Regions from separate parts of the Homo sapiens genome. Here region 2 is linked to region 1. The links are contacts of gene promoters, found by promoter capture Hi-C in blood cells and fetal thymus (Javierre and others, 2016). All regions are on one chromosome and are shown on one strand. The core of a region is centred on a gene start or on the middle of the fragment in contact, and the rest is flanking DNA. Distances in the headings are between cores, read along the strand shown.

The links. Contacts are between HindIII fragments. The CHiCAGO score rates a contact against its expected background, and 5 or more counts as called.
Region 2: a fragment that was not itself captured here is called in contact with the fragment with the promoter of UBE2L6 in region 1 in 1 of 17 cell types (naive CD8 T cells); the score reaches 5.1 in naive CD8 T cells.

Annotation. Positions count from the first base shown.
Region 1 is chr11:57,566,231-57,569,332 of GRCh38, reverse strand. UBE2L6 (ubiquitin conjugating enzyme E2 L6) reads left to right here and starts at 1,661. Exons shown (of 4, transcript NM_004223.5): 1 at 1,661-1,748. The coding sequence starts at 1,722. RefSeq lists a silencer at 1,298-1,657 and an enhancer at 2,911-3,102. The HindIII fragment of the contact is 19,025 bases long and covers 1-3,102 here.
Region 2 is chr11:58,597,832-58,600,933 of GRCh38, reverse strand. The region is part of intron 2 of ZFP91 (ZFP91 zinc finger protein, atypical E3 ubiquitin ligase); the gene reads right to left. All of the region lies in intron 2 of ZFP91-CNTF (ZFP91-CNTF readthrough (NMD candidate)), which reads right to left. Among named protein-coding and RNA genes, the nearest start is that of ZFP91-CNTF, 20 kb to the right of the region's middle. The HindIII fragment of the contact is 1,645 bases long and covers 848-2,492 here.

The DNA.
Region 1 (3,102 bases), core at 412-2,911:
TAACTCCTCAGGAGCAGGGACTCCCCTTTCTCATCCTGGTGTTTCCTATTGGCAATGCCTGCCACTCAGTAGTAGGCGCTTGTTGACTGAGACTATTGATCACAGGCAGGTTCGAATGTCTTTGTTCCCTCATCTCTACCCCTGTTAAGGGATTACGGAGTGTCCTATTCATTTCGGGCATATAGAAAATGCTGTTAAAGTTCATTGAATTGAATGAAACAATTAATCGTTCTGCAAAATCTGAGCAGAGAAGTCATTTGGTTTCAAAATACTTGGATAAAAACATTACGGTGGCTCACGCCTGTAATTCCAACACTTTGGGAGGCCGAGGCGGGTGGATTACTTGAAACCAGGAGCTCGAGACCCTGACTCTACTAAAAATACAAAAATGAGCCGGTCGTGGTGGCGCGCGCCTGTAAATCTCAGCTACTCAGGAGGCTGAGGCACGAGAACAGCTTGAACCGGGAGGCGGAGGTTGCAGTGAGCCGATATCGCCACTGAACTCCAGTCAGGGCGACAGTGAAACTCTGTCAGAAAAACAAGAAACAAAAAAACTGTGAGGTACTGAGATCACAAACTGGTGCTCAAAATATACTGATTTCCTTTCTCGTCTGGACTAAACGGGGGTAGGGAAGGGTGAGAAGGAGGGGATCGGCCCTCCCAACAAGTCTCATCTTCCCCAGATGCTGCTTGGTGCTCAGGGGCTGCAAGTACTCTGTCCTTGCACAGAGGGTTGGGGACTCCAGCTGTGCATGGGGGCACACATTAGGCCCACAGCTTGTAATGGACCAGTAGTAAAGTAAGGGAGGGGAAGCAGACTCTCTCTTGGAAAGGAGGCTCCTGAGTCCTTCTTGGGGCTTCCCCCACCAACTGTTTCCCAAACCAGCATACAGTAGGCACTTAGTAAATACTAAACCTAGTAAAGGACTGAATGATGGTAGACCGAACCCCCAAAGCAAAAGAGAAAGGGTCCAACAGCGCCTCCTTGCGGTGCTCTGCCCCAAGCCACGGGGAGAAACGTTGCAGCCCGCGCCGAACGCCGGGCAGCACAAAGGATCCCCGACTGCCGGGGAGCGGTGCTCGGAGGGCACAGGTCTACGCCATCCCCCACGCAGTTTCGGAGATGGAGCGCTGGGCCCATGGAGGGAAGGCGGCAGGCTCGGCGGCTCCGGCAGCTTGCTGGGGCAGGGGCTCAAGGCGGCAGTCCGATAGTGGAGGCCGCTGAGAACTGTCACGGAGCTGCGTCTGTACAGCGAGCATCCCTTATTTATTCAGGGCGAGTGTGTATTTGGGGCGGCGTGCAGGGGGCTGACAAAGACCGGAGAGCTCCCGGTGCGGCCGCCGGCGGAGCGAAGACTGGAACCCGTATGAGCGCCCCCCAGCGCCCCTGAGCGCTCGCCGCCGGTGCACGGCGCACCCCGCGGGAGGCAGGGATCAGCAAAGCCGTGCGCCCCGAGGCCCGCCCCCGTCTCCGCACAAAGACCGTGAGTCCCGGGTCCGAGCCTTCCGCGCGGGGATCGGGCGGTTGTCCGGCGGGTCGTCCTTCGACGGCCTCCTGGCCTCGCCGGAGCGGGTGCGGGGAGGCCCACGCAGCGACGGCTGGAGGAGGGGTGGGCGGGGCTGCCGGGGGTGGGGTCCCCGGGGCGGGGCGGGGCGCGCTGTGTCGCGGGTCGGAGCTCGGTCCTGCTGGAGGCCACGGGTGCCACACACTCGGTCCCGACATGATGGCGAGCATGCGAGTGGTGAAGGTAACCGCGTATAGGATGACCCCTTTCTCTTGGCTCCCCTCGCCTCCCGCATTCCCTCCTCCCTCCATCCCCTCCGCGGCTCTCCGAGCACATTTATTTATTTGTCTGGGCACCAGGGCTGGCTGAATCCCTGTCCTCCCCGCCCTCTACTCAGAGGAGGACTGGCCTGCAAGAGTGGCCAGAGCTGGGGTTTTGGGGGTTTGGAGGCCTCTGCTTGAGCCGTTCGCGTGGTGAAGATGAGCCGGCTCCCCCAAAACTGGTTTCAATTTCGCTTTTCCTGCCTGAAACTTGTGATAACAACTGGGTGCATCTCCAGTGCAGGAAAAGTCCTTGGCATCTTGGTGCCAGGCATTCTGCTACTGCTGGTGGTGGGTTATGAACACAGATGACCAGGATGAAGTCCTTGCCTTGGAATAAGCCCATAGCCCATCCCATAATTTGATGCCTGTATTACTAGAGTCCTGAGAAACACGGAATGCTGATTAGAATTTGGGACAAAGTTCCCTGAGTATTCTCTGGAGGAAAAGATGCGGAGGTGGACCTGGAAGGCCTCCTGGAGTAGGTGGCTTGCGTTCGTGAGTTCTACAAGTGTTGAATGCCTACATGTGCTGGCCCTGTTCTAGGAGGGGGGGGGGGGCGGGCAGAGATGAACACAAATCCGGCCCTTGTTGAATTTTGTTCCTATCAGGGACACAATTTGAAATAAGATCTGGAAGGATGGGGAGGGGGCAGTTTCCTCCAGAAGGTGGGAAAACCCAGGGTGTTTGGAGATGGATTAGGGAGGAAGGTGATCCTGGTGAAGTGAGTCTGGCACCCCAAGTCTTTCAGAAGTGCCCCTTCCAGTCTGCAGGGTGGAGGGGCAGGCTCTAGGAAGAGGGTGCCTGCTACCCTCAGCCTCTGAGAAGAAAATGGCCTCAGACTGGGATGCCCAGAGCAGGCTTGGCCTAGATACTAAATCTGGAGGTTGGCAGCAAAATGAGGCAGAGGGTCTTTCCAGCCAAGTGGAAGAGAGATGGGAGCCAGAATTTATTGCATTGGAACCATTACATGCCAAACGGTTTACATGGTTATTTCATCTAATTCGCACAGCAGTTCTGTGAGATAAGTAATATATACCCGCATTTTACAAATGAGGAAATTGAGGCACAGAGGAAATAACTTGCTTGTCCAGAGTCTTTCAGTAAGGAGCAATGGGACTGGAATATGAAACCAGGTCCACAGGCCTCCAGCCTGCAGGCTCTCTTAATGGCCTTTCTACTTTCATTTTCTGTTCCTCTGAGTCAGGTGATTTCCTAGTAGGCAGTAGGAAAGAACTGTGTGTTTTAGGTTGGGTTTCAACTTCCTCAGGCTTTGG
Region 2 (3,102 bases), core at 421-2,920, 1.0 Mb before region 1:
AAGAGAGGAAAAAACACACCATTATCTCAATTGATGTAGAAAAAAGAAAAAGAACCTGACAAAATTAAACTTTCATGATAAGAACACACAAAAAACTGGGAATAGAATTGAACTTCCTCAACTTGACAAAGAACACCTTTAAAAACCCCAGAGCTCACATCATACGCAGTGGTAAAAGACAAAGCTCTCCTGCTAAGGTCAGGAACAAGACAAGGATGCCCTCATTCTTCACTTCCATTCAACACTGTACTGGAAGTTCTAGCCAAGTAATTACTCAAGTAAAAAAAGAGGCACCCAAAGTGAAAAGGAAGAAGTAAAACTGTATCTCTATTTGCAGGTGAAAAGACCTTACATATAGAAAATTCTAAAGAATTTTCACAAAAGAAAACTGTTAAAGGTCATATACAAATTCGAAGGGCCAGAATATAATACCAACACGTAACATTCATTGTTTTAAGCATATTAGCAATGAACAAAAAGGAAATTAAGAAAATAATTATTACCTTTATTCAAAGTGCCAGAATATATGACCAACATATAACATTCATTGTTTTAAGTATATTAGCAATGAACAAAAAGGAAATTAAGAAAATGATTACCTTTACAATAGAATAAAAAGGAATAAAATATTGAAAAATTGTTAAGATGACAATACTCTGAAAATAAACCCACAGATTAACTGTAATTCTTATCAAAACCCCAGCTTCCTTTTTGGTAGAAATTGACAACCCAATCCTAAAGTTCACAGGAAAATGCAAGGGATCTACACTAGTCACAGCCATCTTGAAAACAAACAGAATTAAAGACGCACTTTTTTCTTCTCAATTTCAACACTTACTATAAAGCTTCAGTAATCAATACAATGTATTACCGGCATAAAACTAATAATAATTGAATCAACTAACTGAATTAAAGGTCCAGATATAAATCTATACATCTGTGGTCAACTGATTTTTAAGAAGGTGGCTAAGACCATTCAGTAGGTGAAAACAGTCTCTTCAAGAAATGGTGCTAAGACAAATGGATATCCACATGCAAAAAATGACGTTGTATTCCTACCTTATACCATATATAAAAATTAACTCAAAATGGATCAAAGACCTAAACACAGGAGCTAGCACTAAAAAATGCATAGAAGTGAAGATAACCCTACAGAATGGGAGAATATATTTGCAAGTCATATATCTGGTAAAAGTCTAATATCCAAAATATATAAAGTCTTTGGATTTAACAACAAAAAGAGAAACAACCCAATTAAAACATGGGCAAAGAACCTAAACAGATTATTTCTCCAGAGATATACAAAAGGCCAAAAAAGTACTTGAAAAGATACGGAACATCAGTCATTAACGAAATGCAAATCAAAATCACATGAGATTACCATTTCCCACATACTACAATGGCTAACTAAAAATAATAAAAAAAGAAAATAAGAAGTGTTGGTGAGAATGCAGAGAAATTGGAACCATTGTTTATTGCTGGTGGACATGTAAAATGAGGCAGCTAATGAGGAAAACAGTGTTATGGAAAACCTAAGAAAACAGTGTTAAGAAAAATGTTAAGAAAAACTTAGACACAGAATTACCATATGATCCAGCAATTCCACTTCTAGGTACATACACCAAAAATTGAAAACAGCTATTCAAAGAAATACTTATTACATATGAATATTCATAGAAGCACAATTCTCAATACCCAAATTGTGGAAACAACCCAAATATCCATTAACCAGTGAATGGATAAACAAAATGTCATATATACATACAACGAAAATTTTTATCCAGCCATAAAAAGGAATGCAATCTTAACATGTTACAATGTGAACCTTAAAAATATGCTATATGATAGATGCTAGAAACAAAAGTCACATATTGCACATATTGTATGATTCCAATTACATATAATATCCAGAATAGGTAAATCCATAGAGACAAAGCAGATTAATGTTTGTTGCAGCTGAACAGGAGGGAAGGGGGAATAACTGCTTTTAATGGGTACAGGGGTCTCCTTTGTTGGTGGTGATGAAAATGTTTGGAACTAGATAGAAGTGATGGTTGTACAACACTGTAAATGTACCAAATGTCACTGAATTGTATGCTTTCAAGTATTTTTTACTATTTTTTTGTTATGTGAATTTCACCTCAAAACACACACACACACACACACACACACACACACACACACGTGCACAAAAGTATTGCCAGGTTTCTGGAATAGAAATTGACAACTGAAGGACAATCCATACATTAGCATAAACAATCATAAACAGATAGGAAACAAGCCAAGTTTCTTCTGTGTGGTACTTCAAAGACAATTTCCAGTTGTTTCTTATAATAGCAGCTAACCTTGAGGAGGTTCCTTGATACATAAATAATAAGAGAAAAAAGCCATACTAGCTTGGGTAAAGGAAGACATCATACTAGTCACTGCATGAGCAACATGCAGGCACAGTGAATATAACTACAGTTAGTTAACCCTTGAACAACAAAGCTTTGAACTGCATGGATCCATTCATACGCCAGTTTTTTAAAATATGTAAGAAAATTTTTTGGAGATTTGTGACAATTTGAAAAAACTTGCAGACAAACTGTGTAGCCTAGAAATATTGAAAAATTAAGTTATGTCATGAATGCATAAACTATAGATACCACTCTATTTGATGACATTACTGTAAAATATACACAAATATAAAAAGTTAAAATTCAACAAAACTTACACACACAAAGTCTTAGACTATATATGGTATCATCCAAAGTCCAGAGAAATGTAAAGAAACGTAAAGATGTACTAATGAATAACTGCATAAAATTAACTCCGTACATAATAATTTCATAGCTATCTCCTGTTGCTATTGCAGCAAGCTCAGCTGTTTCAAGTATCTGCTTAAAATGTCATGAGGATAATCATCACCACCTGAGTGAATTTACTGTCACAGTAGAAGTGGTATCTCTCAGTTAACTCATTTTTCACTATGTTTAGAGCAATACCTGAAACCTTGACTAACACTACGGGACCCATAAGAGTTGCCACTAGTGATACTGGAAGTGCTTCCAAGAAGCAGAGAAAAGTCACGGTATTACAAGAAAAAGTTGAATTGCTTAA